Linked DNA regions of Homo sapiens: all the other regions are linked to region 4. Evidence: promoter capture Hi-C in 16 types of primary human blood cells and fetal thymus (Javierre and others, 2016). All regions are on one chromosome and are shown on one strand. The core of a region is centred on a gene start or on the middle of the fragment in contact, and the rest is flanking DNA. Distances in the headings are between cores, read along the strand shown. Region 1 holds the start of ZHX3 (zinc fingers and homeoboxes 3). Region 2 overlaps TOP1 (DNA topoisomerase I). Region 3 overlaps TOP1 (DNA topoisomerase I). Region 4 holds the start of DHX35 (DEAH-box helicase 35).

What was found. Contacts are between HindIII fragments. The CHiCAGO score rates a contact against its expected background, and 5 or more counts as called.
Region 1: a contact is called between the fragment with the promoter of ZHX3 here and the fragment with the promoter of DHX35 in region 4, in 1 of 17 cell types (total CD8 T cells). The highest score is 5.5, in total CD8 T cells.
Region 2: a fragment that was not itself captured here is called in contact with the fragment with the promoter of DHX35 in region 4 in 1 of 17 cell types (erythroblasts); the score reaches 11.1 in erythroblasts.
Region 3: a contact is called between a fragment that was not itself captured here and the fragment with the promoter of DHX35 in region 4, in 2 of 17 cell types (neutrophils and erythroblasts). The highest score is 8.2, in neutrophils.

What each region holds. Positions count from the first base shown.
Region 1 is chr20:41,314,899-41,321,171 of GRCh38, reverse strand. It overlaps ZHX3 (zinc fingers and homeoboxes 3), which reads left to right and starts at 3,441. Exons shown (of 4, transcript NM_001384317.1): 1 at 3,441-3,663. RefSeq lists an enhancer at 3,012-3,061 and silencers at 3,172-3,621, 3,632-3,921. The HindIII fragment of the contact is 7,702 bases long and covers 1-5,696 here.
Region 2 is chr20:41,050,757-41,056,938 of GRCh38, reverse strand. The region is part of intron 2 of TOP1 (DNA topoisomerase I); the gene reads right to left. Among named protein-coding and RNA genes, the nearest start is that of TOP1, 25 kb to the right of the region's middle. RefSeq lists a silencer at 3,516-3,810. The HindIII fragment of the contact is 191 bases long and covers 2,002-2,192 here.
Region 3 is chr20:41,031,763-41,037,862 of GRCh38, reverse strand. The region is part of intron 2 of TOP1 (DNA topoisomerase I); the gene reads right to left. Among named protein-coding and RNA genes, the nearest start is that of TOP1, 6.0 kb to the right of the region's middle. The HindIII fragment of the contact is 595 bases long and covers 2,040-2,634 here.
Region 4 is chr20:38,959,944-38,966,928 of GRCh38, reverse strand. DHX35 (DEAH-box helicase 35) reads right to left here and starts at 4,585. Exons shown (of 22, transcript NM_021931.4): 1 at 4,522-4,585. The coding sequence starts at 4,561. RefSeq lists an enhancer at 4,251-4,560 and a silencer at 4,601-4,720. The HindIII fragment of the contact is 4,420 bases long and covers 3,568-6,985 here.

The DNA.
Region 1 (6,273 bases), core at 2,192-4,691, 2.4 Mb before region 4:
TTTCAAGATACCGCCTCAGCTAGAAACAATTTCCCTTTTCCTGGTAATTGGCCATTTCTTGATTCACAGAGGTGGCTTCCTGGTGAACTTCATGCCTGTAAGCTGGCATGACTGTTCTGGAGGAGAGTACCTACCACAAGTTGGGTCAGTTAGAGCCTTTTCTACATGATTTTGTGATTAGAATGATTAGGGAGTTTTAGTCTCTGGGTAGTTGGAATTGTATCTCATACTTGGGAGAGGTTGGTAGACACATTTCCCATTGTATTATTAATACCTGGAGGCAGAGAAAACAAGTTTGCTGGAGTCATACTGGCTCCCCTTACTCTGCTTCCAGCCCATCCAAAATCCCAGCTAATTATTTCCCTTGGCCTCTGTGAGATCCATCCCACCCAAAGCCTAAAGATAAAGTCCCCTTTTATTTTCCTTGAATTGGTCTGATGGGTTTCTGGTCCTTGCAGCCAGCAAACTTCAGATAGTTCTTTGCCTCTGGACCCTGGCACAAAAAGTTCACAGGTGTAGCCCATTCCAATAAAACAGAGGTCAGGTGGTAACTATTGCATTAACTATACTAGCAGTTTCCTTACTGCTTGAGAAAGCTCATTAGAATGTGAGTGCAAATGACATTATTATAGGGATTACCTGAAATCTGCTTAATTTTTTTTAAAGGAAAGTAATATGCCTCTGTGTGTAAATATCATTTGTGACATACCCCCCAACACTGGTATTAAATGGCTGTTTCTTCTGCCTGGAATCTCTGTCTCAACAACTCTTTAGATGTGGCCCCAAAGTCACCTTTTCTGGGAAGCCTACCCACACTCTCCTGTATATTGTTAATTATGCTATTCTCTGTGCTTCCCAAAGCAGTTGGCACATCCATCTTTGTTACATATTTTCTCCCAGAAGTTTTTTGTTTGTTTGTTTTTGAGACAGAGTTTCGCTCTTGTTGCCCAGGCTGGAGTGTAATGCTGCAAACTCGCTCACTGCAACCTGTGCTTCCCGGGTTCAAGTGATTCTCCTGCCTCAGCCTCCCAAGTAGCTGGGATTACAGGTGCGCCTCACTATGCCTGGCTAATTTTTGTATTTTGAGTAGAGATGGGGTTTCACCATGTTGGTCAGGCTGGTCTCGAACTCCTGACCTCAGATGATTCATCCACCTAAGCCTCCCAAAGTGCTGGGATTACAGGCGTGAGCCACTGTGCCCGGCCAGAAGTATTTTTTTTACATGACTGTTTCCTCTGAAATACTGTTCCTCAAAGGTCGGGAGAATACCTCATTTTTCTCAGGATCCCACTGTGCCTGGATCAAAATAGATGCTCAGAAAAGTTTGTTGAATAAATGAAGTTGTATTGGAGCAGTATAACCTATATACATTCTCATTCATCCCAGAAATACTTATTGAGTACCTGAACATGTCGACCCATGTTCTAGATGTTGAAGATGGGAAAAACAAAGTTCCCACCTTCAGAGATATTATAGATGATATTCAGGTTAGAAGGGCTAGGCAGAAAAGTAAAGCAGGCTTAGAGGATAGTGATTGGAGTTGGGACTTGATACTTTAGTAGAGTGGTCTGGGAAAGTCTGGGGAGGTGACTTTTGAGTAGAAACTTGGAAAGCACACGCCTTTCTGATATCTGGAGGAAGCAACACCAAGTACAGAGGTTCTGAAGTAGAAGTGAGCCTCCATATTCCAGGAGCAAGAAGGAGGCTAGTGTGCCTGGCATGCAATGAGGAGGCCGAGTGGAAGGAGGTGCAGTTAGAGAGGTGGAGAGTATAAGTGGACGAAGGGCAGACACATAGGATCTTGGAAGCCTTTGGGAAAAAAACCACATTTTGGAAATGAAAAAAATAGGTGGGCATGGTGGCGTGCACCTGTAGTCCTAGCTACCTGGGAGGCTGAGGTGGGAGGATTGCTTGAGTTTGGGAGGTTGAGGCTGCAGTGAGCTGTGATGGGGCCACTGCACTCTAACCTGGGAGACAGAGTGAGACTGTGTCCCACTCTCCACCCCACTGCCCCCATATTTTTTTTTTTTTGGCTTTTACTCTGAGATGGGAAACCTTCTGGGGGCTTTTGAGCTTAGGTTTCAACAGGATCCCTCTGGCTTCTGTGTTGAGAGAAGGCACCATGAGAGCACAGTGGAATCGTGGAGAACAGGCAGGAGGCTACTACAATATTCCAGGAAAGAGGAAAAGGGGTATTTTAAAGGTAGAGCTGACAGGCTTTTCTAATGGGTTGCATGTGGGATATGATAGGGAGAGTGGAGTCCAGGATGACTCCAATGGTTTGTCTGGAGTCATCAGAAGAATGGAGTTGACATGAACTGAGGTAGGGAAGGTTGTGAAAGGAGCAAGCTAAGGTGCCACGTATGGGTGTTTGACTATCGACTTGTTTACTTGGACACATCGCTCACACTTGTGTATATGCTCCCTGGTTTTCAGGATCTGAAGGTTCTAAAGTTACTTGAAGTTAAAGGCAGCCTTACTTATTGAACACCAAGCACTGTGCAGAAATCTTTATATGTGGTGTCATTTAACCCTTTTAATATTTCTACTGATTTACTCATGTTTCATTGCCCTTTTACAGTTGAGAGATTAACACGTCCAAAGTCACTCAGACAATTATTAACCTGCTAGATTAATGCAGATCTGGGATTCCCATCCAGGTGTGTCAAGACCGTAGAGCTCCTGCTGTTTACTAATCACTGGATTCTAAAGGTGGGAGCCACTTTCTGAGCATATTTGCTGCAGACTTGGTTCCATAACTAAAAAGGTGCCTGGATCATGTGACGAGAATTCAGGAAAGAACCCAACCCCATCCCAGGCATTACAGGTTATACAACAGCTATGAAGAAAGGACGGTATTAGTGGACTCGAGGAGGCTGACTGATGTTTGAAAGTTCAAGTACTTGAAGACTCAATGTTAAAACAGTGATCAAGAGTTAGTTTTTTTGTTATTATTCTTAAGAAAACAGAAAATATTAAAAATTGCAGTGAACCCTTGGTTGGATAAAAGACCACTCCTAGTCGACGCTTGTTGGGAAACACTGGAATTGGAGGAGTGGGGGCAGACAGGAGCGAGAGCCCCTGCCAGCCTACACACACATCCTTTTGAAAGTGTAACCTGGTGTGACCTTCTTTAAGTGGTCCTCTGGAAAGAGCAGGATATGGAGTACAAAAGCCAGGAACCTCTGGGACCGCAGCATCCGCCCCCAGCGCCTCCTTCCCCGTCTTCTTCAGCCTCCACACGGTGGGGCGGGGAGGAGGGGGGAGGAGGAGTGCTGGCGCATGCGCCGGGGGCAAGGTCCGCTCCCCGCGACGTCAGGGGGCTCGCACCCGCTCGAAAGCCCCGCCCCGCGGCCGCCAGAGGCGACCTGGGCGGACTGGGGGGCCTGGGCCACGCCCCCAGCCGAGTCGAGCAAGGCCGAGGGGAGCCGTGCAAGGCCGAGCAGAGCCGAGCGCCTCCGAGAGCGGCCGAGCCCAGCCGAGCGGCCCGGAGTCGGTTGGTGCAGCTGCGTCCCCGCCGCTCAGCAGTCCGCGGCTCCGGCGTCGCCGCCGCCGCCGCCTCTGCGGGGCCTGCGCCGGCCGCCCGCCCGGCCGCGGGGAGGGAGGCCCGCAGCGCGGGAAGAGCGGCCCGGTCGCGGGCGCCGCCACCGCCGCCGCTGCCAGGTGAGCGCCCGCCACGGCCAGCCGGCCCCGCGTGCCCCCGCGGCTGTCAGTCCCCGGTGTCTGTATCTCTCTCTGCCTGTCAGACCCTGTGTCTGCGCGAGCTCCTTCCCGCCACGCCTGGCCCGCGGCCGGCCCGCAGTCTCAGTCAGCCCCCTCCCGCCGGCTGCCCCTGGTCTTTCTGTCAGCCGCCAGCACCCCCATGCTGAGAGGCTCCGCCCCTTCCCCCCGGAGCCCCGCCCTCCGCCATCTGTCATCACCCCCCGGGCTCCAGGAGCGGGCGTCCAGGGGTCCTAGGGGTCAGGGTAGCCCCGCGTGCCACCATCGTAGAAGGCGCAAAAGGGGGTGGTAGAGGGGAAGCGGGGGCGTTCGCGCAGGCCCGCCTGACCGTGTGAGAGTGCATGCCCGAGTGTGCGTTCCGCGTGTGCACCCGAGAGCCGCCTGCGTCCACGCCCGAGGGCCCTTGCACTCTGCTGGGATGTGGCAGCCCATGCCCCCGGTGTAAAGAGCGTCAGCTCGACCAGTGAAGGCGGCAGAGCCAGGACTCGAACCACTCGGGGTACAGTAGCACCCTGAATCTTGGGACCCTTGTCTGCCCACGCGAAAACACTACACGTGGGCCCCAGGTCCTCGGATTCCCTGAGTGGCGTGTGAGTGGAGTTTGGAGCTTGTTAAGCCTTCCCAGTTTGGGATTTTCATTCAGGGAAGCCTGTTGGAAGTGATTGAGGAGTGGATGGGATGTAGGACTTAGGTGGGGAGTGTTTGAGGGCTTGAGTCATTTTGAGTTGCATGGTTTACATTTCTGAGCAGTGATTGCCCTGGGCTTGTGCCCTGCGAGAAACTTATGTGACTTGGGGTGGGGGAGTGAGGTAGGAAGGAATGCTCCTTTCTGTTTTTATCTATGTGAACACATAGTATATATTTATCCAGATATCCTAAATGTTTATTCATGAGGCGTCCACACGTCCTTAATTTAAAAAAGGATTACAGTAGTTTCCATTTATACACGTTCTTGTGTGTTGTTATCTCAATGCTCTTTATTTGTGGTAACTTAGTATTGCAATATTTCAAAACTAAGAGAAAATGCATCCTAAAACAATTGGTATTTTGCCGGATAATTCTGAACCACGGAGAAGGAGCCAAAAGCGCACTTCATTAGCTGGAACAACTTATTCGAGCTTAATTTGTTTCTAAGAGACATACAGTGGAAAAATCCAGAAGCGCAAAATAGTATCAAAGACACATAGAAAATGAATGAAAAGGGCCCTTCTGTTGCTGCCTTGGAAAGATGGTATCAAAGTTGCTGTAGAGGACAGAGCCACTATGTAATGATCAACATATTAACCAAGTTGGTTTTGTGACCTTGATACATTGAGCGGGGCTTGATTTGTGCAGTGGTTCATGACAGGCAAACATTGCATGGGAAGTGTGGTAATTTTTGGAAAAAAATGTTCCCCATGTTGTTTTGGTTTTTGGTTTTGAGTTTGTTTTTTTTTTTTTCATATTGAAGTAAGATTTCAGACAAGGGAAGTCTCATGGTGGAGTGCTTTTTTCTTTTTAAAGATAACATTAAAAATTACCAAAGTAATTCATGTTTAAGGCAGAAAACTTGAAAAACAAAGAAAAGCATTGCAAACAAAACAAAACAAAAAAAACCCCATAATCCCACAAACCATAGTAAATCACAATTTGGTATTAAGCCTTTTAGCCTTGTTCCCATGTATACGTGTTTTTTCTTACAAAAATGCTATCATACTACACAACTTTTATTCTATGCTTTTTTTCTTTGACTTATAACTAGATTATGAGAGATACATCTTTGTTTTATGAGTAGGAACTTGTGTTTCTCTTTGCAATCCTTTAAAAAATTCAGATCATGTTAGTCCTCTGCTTAGAGCCCTCCAATAGCTTTTTGTCTTAAAGTAAACTCTGAAGGCCTTGCTGTGGCCTGCCAGGCTAACCCTCTTCCGAACAACCATCCTCACTTCGAGCCTTGCCAGACAGATCTCTTTGCTGTTTCTTAAAAACATCAAGCTTACACTTGTAATCACAGCACTTTGGGAGGCCGAGGCGGGCGGATCACGAGGTCAGGAGTTCGAGACCAGCCCGGCCAGCATGGTGACACCCCGTCTCTACTAAAAAAAAAAAAAAAAAAAAAAAAAAAAGCCAGGCCTGGTGGTGCGTGCCTGTAATCCCAGCTACTCAGGAGGCTGAGGCAGGAGAATTGCTTGAACCCGGGATGCGGAGGTTGCATTGAGCCAAGATCACACCACCGCACTCCAGCCTGGGAGACAGAGCGAGACTCTGTCTCAAAAAAGTCAAGCATACTCCAGCCTCAGTGCCTTTGCATTTGCTGTTCCCTCCGCCTAGAACTCTGGTCCCTGGATATTAACATAGTTGACTCCCTTACTTCAGGTCTCTGCTCAAAAGTTAGGTTGTCTGGCTTTGCTTGACTGCATTATCAAATACACCCCATTTCCCTGTTGTTCTTATCCTGCCTTGCTTACCACCACTTGGTAATACATATTTATTTGTTGGTGTATTGTCTCTCTCCCTCATTAACCCTGAAGTGTGAGACTTTTTTTTCACCGATATATCCTCAGGGCTCAGAAA
Region 2 (6,182 bases), core at 848-3,347, 2.1 Mb before region 4:
AAGCCAGGTCCCCAAGTTTTTTAAAGCAACTGCTGTCTAAAAATGCAAATCAAAAATGTCTGGTGAGAAACTCGGGGCTGTGGCTCATTAATCTCATTGATACAAATAAGACCTAGGTCAAAGATCTGAACCCCAAGTATTCCTATTTTAAAGGAATGGCTGAGCACGGTGGCTCATGTTTACAATCCCAACACTTTGGGAGGCCAAGGTGGGAGGCTTACTTGAGGCCAGGAGTTTGAGACCAGCCTGGGCAACATAGCAAGACCTTGTCTCTACGAAAACTGTTTAAAAAATTAATTGGGCATCTTGGTGCACCTGTAATACTGGCTGCTCTGAGGGTGAGGTGGGAAGACTGCTTGGGCACAGGAGTTCAAGGATGGAGCTATGATTACATCACCACACTCCACTTGGGCTACAGAGCAAGACCCTCTCTCTAAAACACAAATAAAAGTTATTACATGTGCTATGTGTGCTGTGAAAGGTGTGTCAAAAAGTGTATTACATGGCAACTTCTTCAAATATCTTAATGACTATTATATTGTATTATATAAATTTACTCAGTAAATTTGTAATTTCTGAGTAAATATAAATTTATATTACTGCTGAGAAATGATAGGGAGGCAAATTGAGGTCAGTACAAAAGAACTAACCACTAAAAGAATGGGATGCCTTCTGAACGCCAAAAGCATTTAAACAAACTAAATAACCAACTGAAAGGGAAACTGTAGAGATATTCTGCAGTAGGTAAACTGACAGATTAAAGAATCTCTAAAGATGAATACTGAAGTACTTCCATGTAAGCGATGCCTGGAATTTGCTTATAATACTCTCTGGTGGTGGTGGTTGGGGGAGCACCAAGGGATACGGGGATAGACAAAATTCAACTGGCAAAAGGTTGGTAATTACTGAAGCTGAGTGACAGACACATGGGAGTTCATTATATTTCTCTATGTGTATGCTTGAAACTTTTCATAAGTTAAACATTATCTTTAAGCTTCTTCCTTTCCAACCCTTCATTTTTGTGTTATTATGTGAGGGCATGGCAAGAAGACTGGCCTAGTTCCAAGAGAGGGTTTGTGTTAAGGCATAGTAAGAGATAAAAGTAAAAGCAAAATAAATAGTTAGAGGTTTCTGAAGCAATCTACAAAAAAAGTGACAGCAAAGGAACTAAGAAGGAAGGAAAAAATGTAAAAGCACATTTGGGAAAATGGAAGTAGAACCCAGTTCCAGGAACTCACTACTATGTGTAATAAATGCAGTGTAATAAAGAGTCAGAGAAAGTCTTTACGTCCAGGTGACTGGGGGAACAAGGGGCCTTGGCAAAAACAAGAAACTTGTACAGAATAAAGATGGTGAAAAATACTGGAGAAATGATGGACCAGCCTGAGCCATATTGTATCTAAGGTAACAGTGGGACATCTGACTAAAGATGTTGGTCAGAAGAGATGCCAGTAAGTGAAAAAGTAAAGCCAATAAGGGCACACAGATCTACATCCCTCGTGGTGAAAACATGTGTTTGGAGAGAACATACTGTGGCCTTGAAGATTACTTTCAGCACATACCTTTTCCCCTTAACTGGAATTCATCTACTAGTGTTATTTAAAATGTTTTAGAGGAAGGACCCTGCCACTTCAAGCACCTGTTAAGTGCAAAAAGAAATGTGTTGAATTTAACTGACAGATATGAAAGATGCAAACCAGTGCACATTAAATCATCAGAAAACCTAATTCACTGTGAATTCAGGCCAACTAATGCTTTCTAGTAACAAATATTTTAATTCCTAGTGAAAATTCTAGATGAAGACATGGGAGGAAGCCCCCTGCAATAAAGCAATCTTGATAAAACAGAAGACTTATGGCAACTAACTCCTTTCACTGTAATTTAACTGGAGTTACTCCCTAAGGACAGATAAGTTAAACAGATAGAACAGGAATCAACATCTTTTGCTATTGTTACCTAACGTATTCCCTGGGGTTTAAAAAGCTTTTAAGTAAAGAAGCTTCCGACAGACAAAAGGAAAGTGTCTCTGTCTTTTCCTACTGTAGGAATAGATGTTAGGTAGCATTACACAGGAGTTGAGGGCTAATGTGTAAAAAAAAGAAAGAAAAAAAAGAAATCCTTTTCCTACTGTTTCAGAAATATATTCTGAAGACTAATTCAATTTAAAACCAAATATATTCAAGTCCAAAGCTTCCTGCTAAAGACTCACCAGACAAGGACTCTGCCCTCAAGGAGTTTACAATCCATTAAGGTAATTAAGATATAATCTCAAGTAGCTGGCTGCCCAAGGCACACAAGAGAAAAGGGCACTAATACGGGTGCCAGCACCATGCTAGCGTGCTTTCAAACACTATCTCAACTCAAGTTTCTTACCACTCTTACGATAGAGAAATAGTCCCAGTTCACAAAAGATAATAATGGGTATCTAGGTATCTGTATTAGTCCATTCTCACGCTGCTAATAAAGACATACCCAAGACTGGGTAATTTATAAAGAGGTTTAATTGACTCACAGTTCTGCAGAGCTGGGAAGGCCTCAGGAAACTTACAATCATGGTGGAAGGGGAAGCAAACACGTCCTTCTTCAAATGATGGCAGCAAGGAGAAGTGTGAAGCAAAGTGGGGCAGGTGCGGGGGCGGGGTGGGGAAGCCCCTTATAAAACCATCGGACCTCATGAGAACTCACTATCACAAGAACAGCATGGAGGTAACTGCCCGGGTGATTCAATCACCTCCCACCGGGTCCCTCCCACAACACAGGAAGATTATGAGAGCTACAATTCAACATGAGATTTGGGTGGGGACACAGCCAAACCATATCAGTATCCTTTACTAAATGTATATTTTGTGCAAGGCAGTATTACATATATCACCTCTAAGTTTCACAACTCTGGGTGGTAACGATTTCCTCAAATCTAAGATACTTTTTGCCTCATTTTACCATCTCTGAAAATAAGGTGCATCTAGTTGGTATAACCCCCATGAAGGAAGAATTTGGCAAAATCAAACAAACTCACACACTCCCTCTTTAAACCCAGCAATCCCATGCCTAACAATTCAGCCTGAAAAAACACTCCAAGGTGTATCTAGAGAAATAAGTGGATGACAACAAAGTTAAGAGGCAGTATTTTTAATAAGTGACAGGGAAACAAAGGAGGCAGAATGTAGAATGGCAGATCAATGGAATAGCAAAAGGGTTAAGAAAAAATGTTTTAGGAAACATTTGAAACTCAAATTTTCGAACGTCAATTAACATTAAAGTAACAGTTTCTATCGCATCATAATGCTCCTGTATTTAGAAACTATACAAACTCTTTATAAAGGTAATAGACATTTTCCAAATGAAGCATGTGGGCACCATTACTTCCACATCTCTTACATGATAGCAAGATTTTCTATTTTTCTGCTGTGCTGCTATTTTTCAGTAAGCGCAGTAAGGCAGTAAGATTGCTTAATTTATGGGCATTTTGGGGGAAAAAAAGTCTAAGAGTAAAAATACTGAATCTAGGTTAACTGCCTCCTTGTTTCAAAGTGAAGAGTAATATAATGAGATAAAACAGCCCGGTTCCACCAGCGAACAAGATGAAATAAAAACCCTGGATCCAAGAGTGGCAGTTAGGAGTTAACATAGGCTTCCTGGAGGATGCAGTTTGAGCCAAGTCTTACTGAAAGCTAAGAGGGAGTTGGCAAGACAAAGGAAGGTGAAAGGGCATTCTTGGTGGATGTGCTACGCTGCAGCAAGAAATGAGTTGCAACAGCCAGCTATTACTATCATTGCTGAAAAATTCATCCTCTCCTGAATGAGCAAAATTAAGTGAGACATACTTCTCCCAGCTAGGAAATGGGAGAGTTGACTGTTTTCAGGAGCATATTAAAAAATAAAATCCCAGAGTTATGTTTATCTCCCTAAAGTCATGTGTCCAAAACAGAGTTTTTTTTTGTTGTTTGTTTAGACAGAGTCTCACTCTACTGTCCAGGCTGGAGTGCAGTGGTGCAATCTCAGCTCCCTGCAACCTCCGCCTCCCAGGTTCAAGAGATTCTCCTGCCTCAGGCTCCCGAGTAGCTGGGATTACAGGTGCATACCATCATGGCCAGCTAATTTTTGTATTTTTGTAGAGATAGGGTTTCAGCATGTTTACCAGGCTGGTCTCGAACTCCTGACCTCAAGTGATATACCTGCCTTGGCCTCCCAAAGTGCTGGGATTACAGGAGTGAGCCACCATGCCTGGTCCTTTTTTTTTCTTTTAAAAAAGTTATAGATATACTCTAACTTCTTGTAACTCTAGAGTCCTAGTTCTCTGCTTAGATAGAAAGGAAACAAAATATACAGGAATAAGAAACTCAGTATCAAATGAATCCAACAAAATTTGATCCAACTGTTAAAAAGTTCCTGAAAGCTGGCCTAAACCCAAAATGACAATGAAGCTGCAGATATGGAAACCAAGTACAAGGTCAACCCCAAGTGGCCAAATCAATGTCACATCAGGCATATATAAGATAAAAAGTTCATTCTCCATAGGGAAAACAGACAAATACACAAATTACATGAGGGGAAGAAATAACCAAGTCTGTAAAATACTTTGATAAACATGTTCAAACATGATGAGCACAAAAGACCATGACCAAACCCTAATGTGATAGAGGCACTGCAGAGCAGCACAGAGGTCCCCTTTAGGGACCTCTGAAGGAAGCTGGAGAAAGCAGACCAGTGCAACAGTGAAAAATATCTTATTCAAAATCCTTGTTCTATCACTCAGTGTATGACCTTGGGTAAAAGTCACTTAACTACTAGATCTATGAGAAGGTAGCATAAATCAGTGGTAAAGAGCTTCAAATCTCTGTCCATCATGTACTAGATACCCATGACCTTAGTAAATTTGCTTATCTTACAGATGAAGAAACTTGGGCTCAGAAAATTTCAGTGATTTTAAAGAATTTTATTTTGAAAGTCAATCAATATTTGTGTGTAGTTGTAACAGAATTCCTGGCTAATCTCCAAGAAATTATAAACATGTTAACAACTGTCAATGCGGTACAACCATTCCTAAACCTTCTCCTTGATTAATTTACATAGAACTGAAGTCAGCCTACTCAATCATTTCATACAACTTAGCTCAGGTTGTATATGTGCATTTGAGGCAGCAACCATACCCATTCACAATGCCCACCGAGCCAACAACTGAGAAATGCTGTCTGATTTTCCTTCCTATACTGAGATCCAGGAAAGAAAAGCACTTATGAAAAAGGAAGTAAACTGTGGCCTACTCTAACAACCCTGGTACCCGGAAGCCTAACGAACTTACAGGTTTTAAGGAAGGCACTGTTAACGCCATAGCATTCCCCATGCAGAAGCACATATGCCTGTTTAGCTGTGGTCAGCAGGTGGCTAACAGTGTTGCCAATCTTATTCTATCTGGTGTCTCTAAACTCAATCCAAGCAAAAACATTTACTCTTTCTTAAGGGAGAAAAGGATAAGTCATCAGCACAGAATACTGACTGTTTTATCAACTATTCCATGATCTTAAAGCTTTTAGGGTAATCAGATCAGGGCAGGAAGAAGAGTCCTTTGCTGCCTTATAAGCAAAGGCAGAGAGCTTTCTGATATAAAGGAGACTCTTTGCCATGTTTTGAGCCAGTCCCCTTTACACTGCCTTTTGATGATAGATTTGAGACTTAGGGCAGCTGTATAATATGATGGGCTCCTCCTTCAAAGATAATCATCAAGTCAAGTGTATGGGGAATGGAGGTGTGGCATAGTTACACAATCAAAACCTACCTTCTCCAAAAAGACACTCACAATATAACTTCTGTCAAAGATAATCTCTGCTCTTCTCTGACATACAAATATACAACTAGCGCATAAGGAAAGTGAACACTAGAACCACTTGAGTGAACACAATGGGTGAATAAATTATTTAAAGAAAATATTTATCACCTCATTATTAAAACTCTTGTACTGGGGCAAACCCTTACATCTTCTACTTCCTCCCTGACTTTCAAACCCATATCACATCCCCAAAAGCAGAAGTTTTAAAAAAATCAACATTCTCTTTAACACTCTATACCCAGTATGTTCTAATACTTTTAAAAGAAGATGGCTTCTGTCTAGGACAGATAACAAGCTGGTCTTGAGTGATAAAAAACTGGCATCCAGGAGTGCAGTAAATATCAGGGGTGTGTGA
Region 3 (6,100 bases), core at 1,088-3,587, 2.1 Mb before region 4:
TTGTGATGCTTCTGTGATAATCCTTTTGCTGAATGGCGTAAGATCTCTACTAAGATCCATTTGGCTTAAACCTAATGAACACTAGTGAACACATCCTTAAATGACTTTTGTTTATTTCCTTTAAGTAACACTTCCAAAAAAACAAATTCAAGGCAATTCAATATTCAGCATTAGCTAGACTTATGAGCCATTACTGAAATTTCTACTGACTTTATCAAATTTTTTCATGGAATCTCCCAAATGCCTATACTCACGCATAACTGTTAACACGGCATTTGGTACTAAATTCTCACACATAAGCTTTATTATATTATTTAAGGTATTCTTATTCCCAAGAATTACTATTTCAAAGAAAACCAAGTTGGTCACTTTAAGCAACTATTTGAATAAATGAAAAACTGAAGTAATTCTCAGGTGCTTTGAGAGTTCTCTGTTTAATTTAAAAACGTTTTGGGGGAGAAGTAAAATAGTGGCCTTTGAAAAAATATGCTGACACAAGACATATTGAATTTTGTGGTTTTAAAAAATTAACAAATAATGAACTTGGCATTTTATTAAATGCATCGAAAAGGGTCAAGTTATTTTTAATAGAAAATCCATAATTCTATTAAATGGTTGAGAAATTAGTCACATCAATAGACTTCTTTCATTTCTGAGCCCATCTTCTGTACTGCTACAAGTTCCTTTGGCAATGACCACTTTGCTGTAAACATTCTTAGAAAAGTAGGAATTAGGCTTGGCGCGGTGGCTCATGCATGTAATCCCAGCACTTTGGGAGGCCGAGGCTGGTGGATCACGAGGTCAGGAGATCGAGACCATCCTGGCTAACACGGTGAAACCCTGTATCTACTAAAAATACAAAAAATTAGCCAGGCGTGGTGGCGGGCGCCTGTAGTCCCAGCAACTTAGGAGGCTAAGGCAGGAGAATGGCGTGAACCTGGGAGGCGGAGCTTGCAGTGAGCCGAGATTGCGCCACTGCACTCCAGCCTGGGTAACAGAGTGAGACTCCATCTCAAAAAAAAAAAAAAAAGAAAAGTAGGAACTAGATATACAATTGGATCCTTCTCAGCCCAAACCTAGATATGAAGACACCTTTTACTTTACAGTGACCGCTTTGTAACTGGAAGACATCAGTGTAGGCTCTGCTGATTCAATTAGGTAAAGACTCAACAACACTAGTTACATGTTACAATTCACTGTGTAAATGTCAAGAAGATTTAAAACTTTAACAGGGAATACCAATGAAAGACAGACTCCCCAACATCAATCACTATTTCAAACCTAACATTCAAAATAAAGATCCAGTTGAGAATAGAGGCTGTCTCATCAAAGTTTACATTTTACAATGAGGACAGAGAGGCACCTTCATATACTTATCTAATTCTCAACAGTTTGTGAAACATAAATATTATCCTTGCTTATGGATAAGAAAACAAGGTTCAGTGGTCAGATCATGTTTCATAGGAAGAACAGGGACTTATCTCGATTTTTCGGAATCCTACACCAATTTTCTATTTTACCACAGCTGTCTCCTCACACCCCCACTCTTCCCCTAGACCTAACATTCCACATACAAAGGGTCCAAGCTATCTCTAACAGCAGATAATCAAGGGCAGGTTCTGACATCTGTACTAGAAGCTTACCAATTACAGCCTGAGTGGGGTTTCCAGAATCTGGACCAAGGCAGCATGTTATCAAAAAGGGGACATGAAAAGGCATAAAGGGTAAAAAGAAAAAAACGTTTCCTTTCCTGGTCTCTGGTTCTCCCCATAAGCCTATGCAATCTATATTATCTTTATTCAATTCAGATTTAATGCACATAAAAATGTGGTGCCTAATAAGTTTTCAAAATTAGTTCCCTTCATCCCACTTCTGCTGCTTGGCAAGAGCTCACATAGTCAACTACAAGGAAACAAAGGGGCTACCTTACTGGAGTCAGGTTAAGTAAAAGGTCTTAGCCAATGAGATCCACAAATGACAATGATCCTGAAGCCTCCTAGATTAGTCTCCTGCACAATCAGTAATATACCTACAAAGCTTTATAAATCTGGGCATTCATACATATATGATAGCAAGATTAACATTTGGACTTCTACTAAGGGGAAAAAGGGTGTATTATTCTGGTGGAGGACTAACCTTCAACAAAGAACTTTTTTTCTATAAACTCCAATAGCCAAGAAAAGTCCTAGGCATCTATCTTTGCTAGCGTGTGCTAAGAAAAACAATATAAAGAATAATGGGACCACAAGCTGGCTGGGTCGGTTTCGTTCTTAAAATATAGGAAAACGTCAGAATACCCAGGGATCTGTTAAATTCTTTTCCCAACATCATCATTTACAACAACAAATACAGGAGATCTGAAGTCCCTAAAAATACTGATTGCTTTAACATCTTTTGTTGGAGCTTACCTAGGTGTTTCTTAGGAATGCTAATGAACTGTGTTCTTTAGGCTCCTTGAATCCACAGAAACAAAAATGTTAATTTCAAAGGCTCAGAGGGGAATTAATTGCCTGGTAGAGATGCCTCCCCACCCCAAATCTGATGGGAAGGGTAGAAGGGAGATGGTAAATTAAAACATTTATTACACATTTCAGAAAAATTTAGCAGACAGGTAAGTGAGTGAAACTAGAAGCTTAAGACAACAAATGAAAAATGAATACCTACCAAAAAGAAATTAAGGGTCAGGCACAGTGGCTCATGCCCAGCACTTTGAGAGGCTGAGGTGGGCAGGCTGCTTGAGCCCAGGGGTTCAAGACCAGCCTGGGCAACATGGCGAGAAACCTCGTCTCTACAAAAAATGCAAAAATTAGCCCGGCGTGGTGACATGCACCTGTAGTTCCAGCTACTTGGGAGGGTGAGGTAGGAGGATCGCTTGAGCCCAGGAGGCAGAGGTTGCAGTGAGCTGCAATCACACTACTGCGCTCCAGCCCGGGCAACAAACAGAAACCCTGTCTGCCCCCCACCCCGCCCAAAAAAAAAGTAAAGGAAAGAAGTTAAAATTAAAAGTTGCCTACCTTCCTTGGAATTTCTTTCTTACTAAACGTTAAGAGACATAAATGACACACATAAAGACAGTTAATACAAACTTCGATACAGATAGCCAAAGTTGATATTACGATCTATATACTCCAGAGATATGCATGAGATACCAGTAACATCACTTCTCTCCCAGTGTGAAAAATATCTAGGATCTTTCCTATACACACAGAAAATGTTCAACAATATCTATTTACTATTAAATCATTTCAGCAAACTATCAGCCATTTCTCATAACGCCACCAAAATACCATCAATATCTAACAGACATTCCTCTACAAGCTTCCCCGCAACCCCCAATCAAACTTTGTCCACCCTGCCCTCATTTACATCCCTCTCCACCCTTCCCAGGCCCTATGCTATCAACACAGCACATACTGTCCACATCTAGATAGGCAGGTGGCAGGGAGGGTGGGGGTTGGCAAAATGCTAATTATTCCAACCCTGGCCTCTATTTTAGATTTTCTACTGCAGCTATTGGCCTGGAGCCATGGGGATGGAAAGCTGCTGCTCAAACTTGAGATGTATGAGGCATGGAAATAGGGAGAAAAGACAGTTCCAAATATTACTACTCGAAGTTTAAACACAATCTGAAAGCTTCCTTTAAACACAATACCCATTCGCCTCTTAAGGACTAGTTTGGAAGTCTCTAAACTTTTTACCTTAAGAAATCCATGTGTCAACTGTTTGCCTAAATGCCCTTATTATCCAAAGTTAATGGTTTCAAAATAATTAAGGGATAGTCAGATAATCTAAACCATACAACACAGAAAATTCACTCAACTGACTCTCACCTCCACATCCAATATATTTTACTATTCTTTCAATAGGGTTTTTTTTTTTAAACCTCCAGGTCCAATGTCAAAATACTCATTTCAAACATTTCCACAGCTTCATTCAAACTAATTACATTTGAATTCATTTTCCCAAGCAAACACAGTTTACTGGAGTTCGACACAGTTTCACATGGGAAAGATGCAATCCCTCACAAAACACACTTCTGAGGAAACGACTTTGGATTTGAAGAATATCAGTTTTACTTTGCACTAAAAAGATGGCAAAAGGCAAAAGTTGATAATGATGTGTCATATAAATATGCATTCATGTCCAACTAATATGAAATAACATGGTTTTAGTATAATCTGAAACTTCTAAAATGATATGTATTCAGAAAGCACAACAGAATCATTTTCCATACCATTAGCAGCAGGGACAACTGTTACTATATAATTAATATACAACAAAGCTGTATATTAGAAGGCAAACATTTTTTTGCACCTCCCCACCCCACACATGCACTGAAAACAAGCAAAACAAAAAAACCTCACAGCCCAATTTTGGAATATAAACTTTAAGACATGTTATTTAATAATCTGAACAAACTAATGAATGTCTTTCCAACTCTCTCAATTCCCCATCTTTATGCTGACAGCAAGGGGAAAAAGTCAGACTCAATTCCTTTTTTTTTTTTTTTTTTTTGCTGCTATTGGTTAAAATGAGATTTGGGGACTGACCTTGGTTTCCTATTTTCCATTTTACTCTATCTACTGAACCAAAGAAAAGCAGGAGTTGGTGACCGTTACTGCTAGCTATATTATTTAGTTTGCACCTTTCAAGCCACAACGTATTTCTGATTCTTTTAGTGATGCCTGGATTTTCTTGTTTTTACTAGAAACATCCAATCCGAGCCTAAAATTTGTTTGTGAGATCTGATATGCTGGTAAACTAAAAAAACACATATTGACAAGCAACTTTCTTTTATGTCAAAGCATAGTATAAAAATCCTAGCGGCTCACTAATTCTAAAAAGGTGCCTCAAGGAGTCCAGTTGCAATGTAAGGGAAGAAAACCACCCTGGAGCATAATGCTTAAGTATTTCCTGATTGAGTCTGAGGATGCTGCAGATTTCATTTGGCGGTACCATCACTTTTCAGTTTTAAAAATGTAGTGGCAATTTTCAGATAGCCACATCATCAGCTATCTGAAATTCCCCCACCGCAATCAGCTATGCTACCGCCCATCCCAACCCATACCCAACAGACAGAAGTACAACTATCTATTAGCATCAGAAACAATTCATATTTAATTACCTTCATCCAATTTGATTCCATTAAGCCAACCAGAATCAGCACAAGATGATGTCAAACCATGATCCTATATATCACTTCTTAGACTAAAGACTGATGGAGCCAAGTATTGTGCTTTGCTAAGGGGGTCAAATGGGGGAGAACTCCCTATCTCCATAGCAGACAGGCAAAAACTTCAAGACCTCTGAAACAGCAGAAGAATCGCTAACACTTTAACCTGGTATTACCATTATCAATTCTACAGATAGCTACGCAGCCTGTACAGTACTGTAATAATGACTCAGCCCCACTACAGTTAGTTCTACCAATACTTAGGAAGTCTTTTCACTTAGACTTAGATATGGTTTCTGCTCCAAATTCCTAACTCACTGTCAACATTTTAAATATAAATAACAGAGTCTCCCAGCAGTTGAGTATGGGTCAGAATGTTCTAAATTACATGCAAAGAGCTACAATTTTAAATATTGCGAAGAATGAGCTCCAAAGTGGGGGGACGGGGGGGAATCTTTTATATCTTAGGGGATGAGGGCAGGCAAAATGAGAGACGTTTGATTTTAATATATGAACTTGTACAGTTAATCTGTAAGATGGGTTAGGCCCTCTTAAAATCACGCTTAAACAATCTCTTAATACAAAGTTCAATAATGACATGTCTGGGCATAATTAAACATTGATTTCTACTTTTTTTAAAGTTTTTTTCATAGTTACATAAATCAATCACTGGTTAACAATGTATTACTTGAGATAGCAAGCATAGTTACCAACACCACATCTTCCAGACAATATTCACAAAGAATAATTACACCAATGTCAGAACTTTATGGTGGCAGATTCTCTTCAAAAAGCATGTTTAGATAAAAAGCAAATGACAAATTATCAAATCCTTCCTTCTCTCCTTTTTCAGCTCTGTAAGAAAATAGAGATTTGTGGCTTTTTATTTTTTCATGCTAGTATCATATAGTATCACTCTAGCATAGT
Region 4 (6,985 bases), core at 3,336-5,835:
CAAAGAGACAGGCTTTCTTTCCTTCCCTTCTTGTCACTACATCTTAATAATTCCTTGTAATTGTTACTCAAGAAAACAATGACAAAGAATACCTTATCCTTTTCTGCTGTGTTTTTGTCCTGAATTCCTGCCTTTTCAAATCATGTTTTAAACCTTCATATCCTCTCTGGAATATTTTAACATGTCTTTTGTACTACCGTATTCCTCCCTTGTCTCTAACCTACAGCCCCAATCTATCTCTTCTATTATCAGCTTTTGTTTTTGGAGATGGAGTCTCTGTTGCTCAGGCTGGAGTGCAGTGGCGAGATGCCAGCTCACTGCAACCTCCGCCTTCCAGGTTCAAGCGACTCTCCTGCCTGGGCATCCCGAGTAGCTGGGATTACAGGCACGCACCACCGCACCCAGCTCATTTTGTATTTTTAGTAGAGACAGGGTCACACCATGTTAGCCAGGCTGGTGTCGAACTTCTGACCTCTGGTGATCCACCCACCTCGACCTCCCGAAGTGCTAGGATTATAGGCATGAGCCACCACGCCCAGCTGAGCTCTTTTATAAGAACAGCTATGTCAGTTGATAAACAGTATACCTTCTCCTCATAAAAGACTTCCTTCAACCAAACCAGAACATCAGGGCTGCTTTCCCTCTATAAACACCCCTCTGTGGCTGCCTATGATTGATTTTTCCTTGAGCGTACGCTCTATGCTTAAGGGAGTAACAACTTTATAACTTTTGCAAACTATGAACATCTTCATTTCCCTATCTTAACAAGGCTGATATCCCTAATTCCTCATTCCCTTTAACTTGGTTTTTAAAAATTTTACTGGTGACCCATTAGTGGGTTATGAAATCAATGTAGTATGTCATACCAGCACTTTTTAAATAATGAAATAGAATAGAAAGCATCAGAGCACATTCCAGAAAGCAATACTGTTTATGAACAACTTTTTCTTCAGTTGTGTATGTGTGCTATATCTTACTGTGGGTCAAGTCAAAAAAAGCTTAAAACCTATTGTAAAGTTTTCGTCATGCACATGGTCAACAATCATGAAATATTTATCAAATGAGCAAACGAAAATGGGCAGGCCCTTCGGATCCACGTGTACTTGCAAATTAAGTAAAAGATTTTTGTAGAAAACTCTCAGGCAGGTCATACAAGGCCCTTAAGTCACACTCCTAAGGTAGACACCACAAATGGGTATCTTAAGGTACCCAGACATGCTATTGTTAAAATGTTTTAAATCATTCATTTAAAACAACACATAAAATTTTCCCATTCAGATCTGGATATTAGGCTTCTTAAAAAAAAAATTGGGCAACTCTGAACCCATATGATAACAATTAGGTGGACCTGAGTACAACTCCCTATTTTAGAAAGCATATGTAAGCTCTACTGTAGATCTCCACTGTACATACTATCCAGTGTATGCACACTCTGCCACAGTCCCCACCACTCCCTATTACCTCCAGTAAGCAACTTCACTCACTTAGACTGTCTGAAAGACCTCTGTAATCACAGGCTCAGGCCTACAGGATATGTTCATGATTTGAATGTCTAGCCTTATATCAGCTTCCCTGACTTTCACCTTGCATTTCCCACAACCTACTTCATATCTTGAATTTCCTCACTAAAATAAGAGTATTACTGTCATCACAGAGATACTGTGACTGTTTAATAAGATGTGTAAATGAAAGTGACTAACACAAAGCAACGGCCCAATAACTGTGTACTAAAGCTATTCCCATGTCAACTAATGACAACACAATTTACCTAGACCAGTGGTTCCCAAATTTTGATGCATGCTGGAATTCCTTAGAGACTTTAAAAAACACTGATGCCTGGCTCCTAGGCCTCCAAAGTTCTAATTTATTGGTGTGAGGTGCAAGTGCACATCAGGACTTTTCAGAGCTTCCCAAGTGATTCAACTATAAAGCAAAATTAGAGAATCACTAACCTAGACAGTCACCCAGCCCAGAAATCTGAGTTATTACTGACTTCATCTTCTCCCACATCTTCCTCTAAAATGTCTCTCCAACAGGCACCTCCTCTAAGCTCCCAGGTCAGAATTAAGGTTTTTAACATCCCTCCTGGATTTCACTAGTACCTTCTCTAATTTCCTCCTCCATCCACTCTCTACTCCACTGCCAGTGTTATCTTTCTAAAGTAAACCTGATTTGTTCCTGCTTAAAAACACTGAAGTCAGGCCAGGCCCAGTGGCTCACGCCTGTAATCCCAACACTTTGGGAGGCCGAGGTGGGCAGATCACGGGATCAAAAGATTGAGATCATCCTGGCCACCATGCTGAAACTCCATCTCTACTAAAAATACAAAAATTAGCTAGGTGTGGTGGCACACACCTGTAGTCCCAGCTACTCAGGAGGCTGAGGCAGGAGAATCGCTTGAACCTGGGAGGTGGAAGTTCCAGTGAGCCGAGATTGCGCCACTGCACTCCAGCCTGGGCGGCTGAGCCAGACTCCATCTCAAAAAAAAAAAAGAAAGAAAACAAAAAAACAGTGAAGTCTAAACTTTTTAACTTGTCATGAAGACCTTTCACAATGAGGCCCTTACCTACTTTTCTAGCTTCATCTCCTGTCATACCCCAAAATATACCCTAGCACTTAACACTATCACACTGCTCTGTTATTTTGGCTTTCTGGACATTCTAAAGGCACAAATCCCATTCTGCCTTTGTTCATGCTGCACCCTTTGCTTCGAGTTCCATTTCTCTATGAAACAAAACCTTATTCATCCTTTAATGTTCACTCCAAAAATACCACCTTAATGAAGTATTTCTTATCCATACATTCAACTTTCCCTCCCTCTTCCATACTTCCATATAATTATAATAGTAACCTATCTAGTGCCAAGATCCTGTTGTGTGTTATTCTCATTTAAACCTCACAACACTACTTTGGGTAGGGTAGGTATTATACCCAATTTACAGATGGAGTAACTGAGACTTTGAGAATTTAAGTGACTATCAAGTCATCAACTTAGTAAGTGGTAGACATGATGGGCACTGCAGTCTGACTCTAGAGCTCATCTTCTTTACCACCACCTTACTCTGTCTCATTGTAAAATCTCTTCTAGAGGACATCTAACTTTATATTCAATTAAGAGAGAGACAGTAACTTGAGAGCAGAGCCCTGAGCATCTGTATTTGTCTCCTGAACACAGGATTAGGTTTTCAATAAGTGTACCCTCAATGGATGAACTAAATAATGAAATAGAACTCTTAAGAGTAATTCCACGTTCTTTAACCAAAATAGTACCCTGGTCTGATTTCAAACAATTAATTCAGCTCTTTATTATACCTAACACTTTCACCTGTTACTAAAAGCGTGAATAAATTAAAAGTATTCATTACTTAGTAAGTTCCTAGTTTTGGATGCAAATAAAACTCAGGATGGATAATTGGCTGATGACTTGAAATGCTGAACCATAAAACTGTCAAGTGACAGACTACAAATTTTTAAAAAGCATTAAACATATCTCTTGCTTGGGTTTATCTCTCACATCACTTATATGCATGGTCAGAATTTCAGAGAACCACTGAAAAATTAAAAGCTTTGCTTATATTACATTCTTGGTGTCATTTCATTTTTGCTGCAATATACTTTGCACATCCAGACCTGCAGGGGTGCAGGTGGTAGAAAAAAATCAAGCTGGTAGCTGTAATTTAAAAACTTTTGTTTTTTACAAGAAACTGTTTGCAGAGAGGAAGTAATGCATCTAGTACGGTCTGGCATATGCACATTCAGTAAAAACCTGATTAATGAGTAAATATCAAGACAAAACAAGTAAAGCATTTTGTGATTGTGATTCGTGTTAGTCTGTAAGAGAGGAAGTGGCTGGCAGCCAATATGAAGGACTGTTCCCTTTTCTAGTAGACATTCGGAGTGGACAACAATTATCCTAAAAGAAAATAACACACTTTCCCTTTTTTTGAGCATTTATTCTAAGTCTGACAACGCGTTCTGCTTGTCATTTAAGCCCACAGCATAGAAGCTATTGTTCTGCCCACTTTACAGGTAAAGAAGTCATGGCTCAGAGGCATTAAGTGACTCGCCCAAGGTCACCCTACTACAAGGCAGAGACGAAAATTCGAACCCGGACAGTCTGACTCCATAACTTGGGCTTGCAAGCCTCCAGCAGCGAGCAGCATTGTCTGTCGGGCCACAGCGCAACCCCAGGGCGCTAACGAGACACGAGAGGGAGCTTTAGGATTCCCCATCTCGCGGGGTGGGCAGGACAAGCATCAGTAACGAGGAAGACGAGGCCTGAGGAGGCTGGACCACTTTAACAAGGTCACAAAGAGTTTCTGCTCACGCTAGGGGAGCACCCCCAAATCCCTCGGGACCACTGGGGAGCCTGAGCCAGAGCTCCCCCCGCACAGAGGCGGCAGCGCCCAGCTCGCCGAGGTCAGGCCTGCGAGCAGGTCTGCTGGCCCCAGGGCGCCGGCCGCGGCGCCAAGACCGAAGTCAGGCCGCCGCATCTGCCCAGCGTTCCACCAAGGGCCTTACCGGGTCGCCAGAACTTCACCGGTCCCACGGGCGCAGCCATGTTGGGGTAAAAGGTCACGAGGCTAGCTCCACCCCACCGTCGCGCGCTAGGCCCCCAGGGCCCGGAGGGCGTGGCCCCCGAAGAGCCGCTGCCCAGACGGATCGCGCCGTGTGACGGCCACGCCCCCACAGCTACCGCCCCCGTCTGAGCCACGTGACCCACTTCCAGGCTCCGGCGAGCGCACCGGCCCCGCCCCCGAGCCCACGTGACCCTGCTCAGCCATTTTGGAGAAAAGGGCGCGCTCCTCCGCCTACCTCTTGAGCGTGGAGGGTAGATGCTTCAGGTGACCTTTTACGAGCGTGGCGTGTCCTGGATGGCGGCCGCACACTTAGGAAGAACGGGCTTTGGGAGAGGACCGCTGGCCCGAGAGTGGAACCTTGCACGCACTGGGCGTTGAAGCAGTGCTTTCTGGATTAAATACGAAATACTGATGTCACAAGCTACCTCAACTTGTCGACTTCTGTTTTATTCTCAATTTCAAATTGAAGGGTAATAATAGGAACTACCTCGTGGGTTGTATTTGTCAGTAAATATTGCGCGCCTGCTGTGGGCCCAGGTAGTGCGGCACAGTGCCCCAAATAAAACAATGCGAAATGATATGGAAGTCTTCAGGGACCTTGAGGGCAAAACGGAAAAACGGACTGGGGGTGGGGTGGAGCGAATGGGTTGGCAGAAGAGACTGAAAATGGGTAGATCAATTAAGGTAGTCCACCAACTCAGTGCTTCCTCCAATTTGATACCCTTGAGTCAAATGCTTGTTAAAAACACAGATTCTAGGCCTTGATCCAATTCTGAATCGATGTCCTGGAGCATGGCTTGGGAACCTGCATTTTGAGAAGCTCCTGAATTCTTCAGATTAACAAATTTGGGAAAGATTACACTAATCCATCAGACGAAAGGTGAGGTCAAAGAAAAAGAAATTACAGTAATCCAAAGGAGCGCTAAGAAGGGGTGATGAGCTCAAGTGGAGGAAATAACTTTCTAGGTAGGCAACTAATTGGAAGGAAGTGAGAGGCTTCAGAATCTATGCATTTTTAAAGCTGTGAAGAAAATTCTGAATTCTTTGAAAGAAGTGGCATCATTATGGCAAGAGCAGGGGCTTTTGTGGACAACCAGTCCAGACTTGGAATCGTAACTTTGCCATTTCCTAGCTCCTAGCTGTCATTTAATTTTAGTTGTAAAATGAGGTTTAAAGAGGTATTACATGAGATAACATGTAAAGTACCTAACAGTGCAAAACATAGCAGGCACTGAATCAATGTTAGCTCTCATTACCTCAACTCAGAGCAAATCCACCAGGGGGAAAAAAATCTGAATTTACCTGCATAGGTTCATGTAAGAATCTTCTTTGATTTATTTTTATAGTAATTAATGTAGGGACTCAATATCTGTTAGTCCCTCGGCCTAGAATTCTCCATCCATCCTTTAAATTATCTTTATCCCTTAAAGGGCTAGCTCTAAATTATCTATCCAACTTAAACATTCCCCCTTGTAGTCTAGGAACTGTATTCTCACTTTTGTGAGAAAAGTGACCTGTAGTTTAGTTGCCTGTAGTTTACCTGCCGCCACTATTACACAGGGAACTTACTGAGGACGAGGACCATGTCACATTCACATTCGTGGCCCAGTAACAAGTGCCTATTGAGTGTAGATAAACATCATGCTTTAGGCTTAGTTTTAGTTGATCTGTAGTTTACCTGCCGCCACTATTACACAGGGAACTTACTGAGGACGAGGACCATGTCACATTCACATTCGTAGCCCAGTAACAAGTGCCTATTGAGTGTAGATAAACATCATGCTTTAGGCTTAGTTTTAGTTGATCTGTAGTTTACCTGCCGCCACTATTACACAGGGAACTTACTGAAGACAAGGACCATGTCAGCATTCACATTCACATTCACATTCGTAGCCCAATAACAGTGCCTATTGAGTAATGTATAGATAAACATCATGCTTTAGGCTTAGTTTTAGTTGATCTGTGGTTTACCTGCCGCCACTATTACACAGGGAACTTACTGAGGACGAGGACCATGGCACATTCACATTCGTAGCCCAGTAGCAGTGCCTATTGAGTAATATACAGATAAACATCATGCTTTAGGCTTAGTTTTAGTTCTTCATGACATTGATTTTTCCTTGTTTTATTTTTGTCTTATTTTACTAACAGCCCAAATACGGAAACCAAGGTTTATACATGAATATAAGGCAAAATGAAATAAATGCCACTTTTAAGATTATTTCATGGCCTGGCACGGTGGCTCACACCTGTAATCCCAGCACTTTGGGAGACTGAGGCAGGCAGATCAACTGAGGTAAGAGTTCGAGACCAGCCTGGCCAACATGGCGAAATTCTGTCTCTACTAAAAATACAAAAAAATTAGCCGGGTGTGGTAGTAGTCACCTGTAATCCCAGCCAGTTGG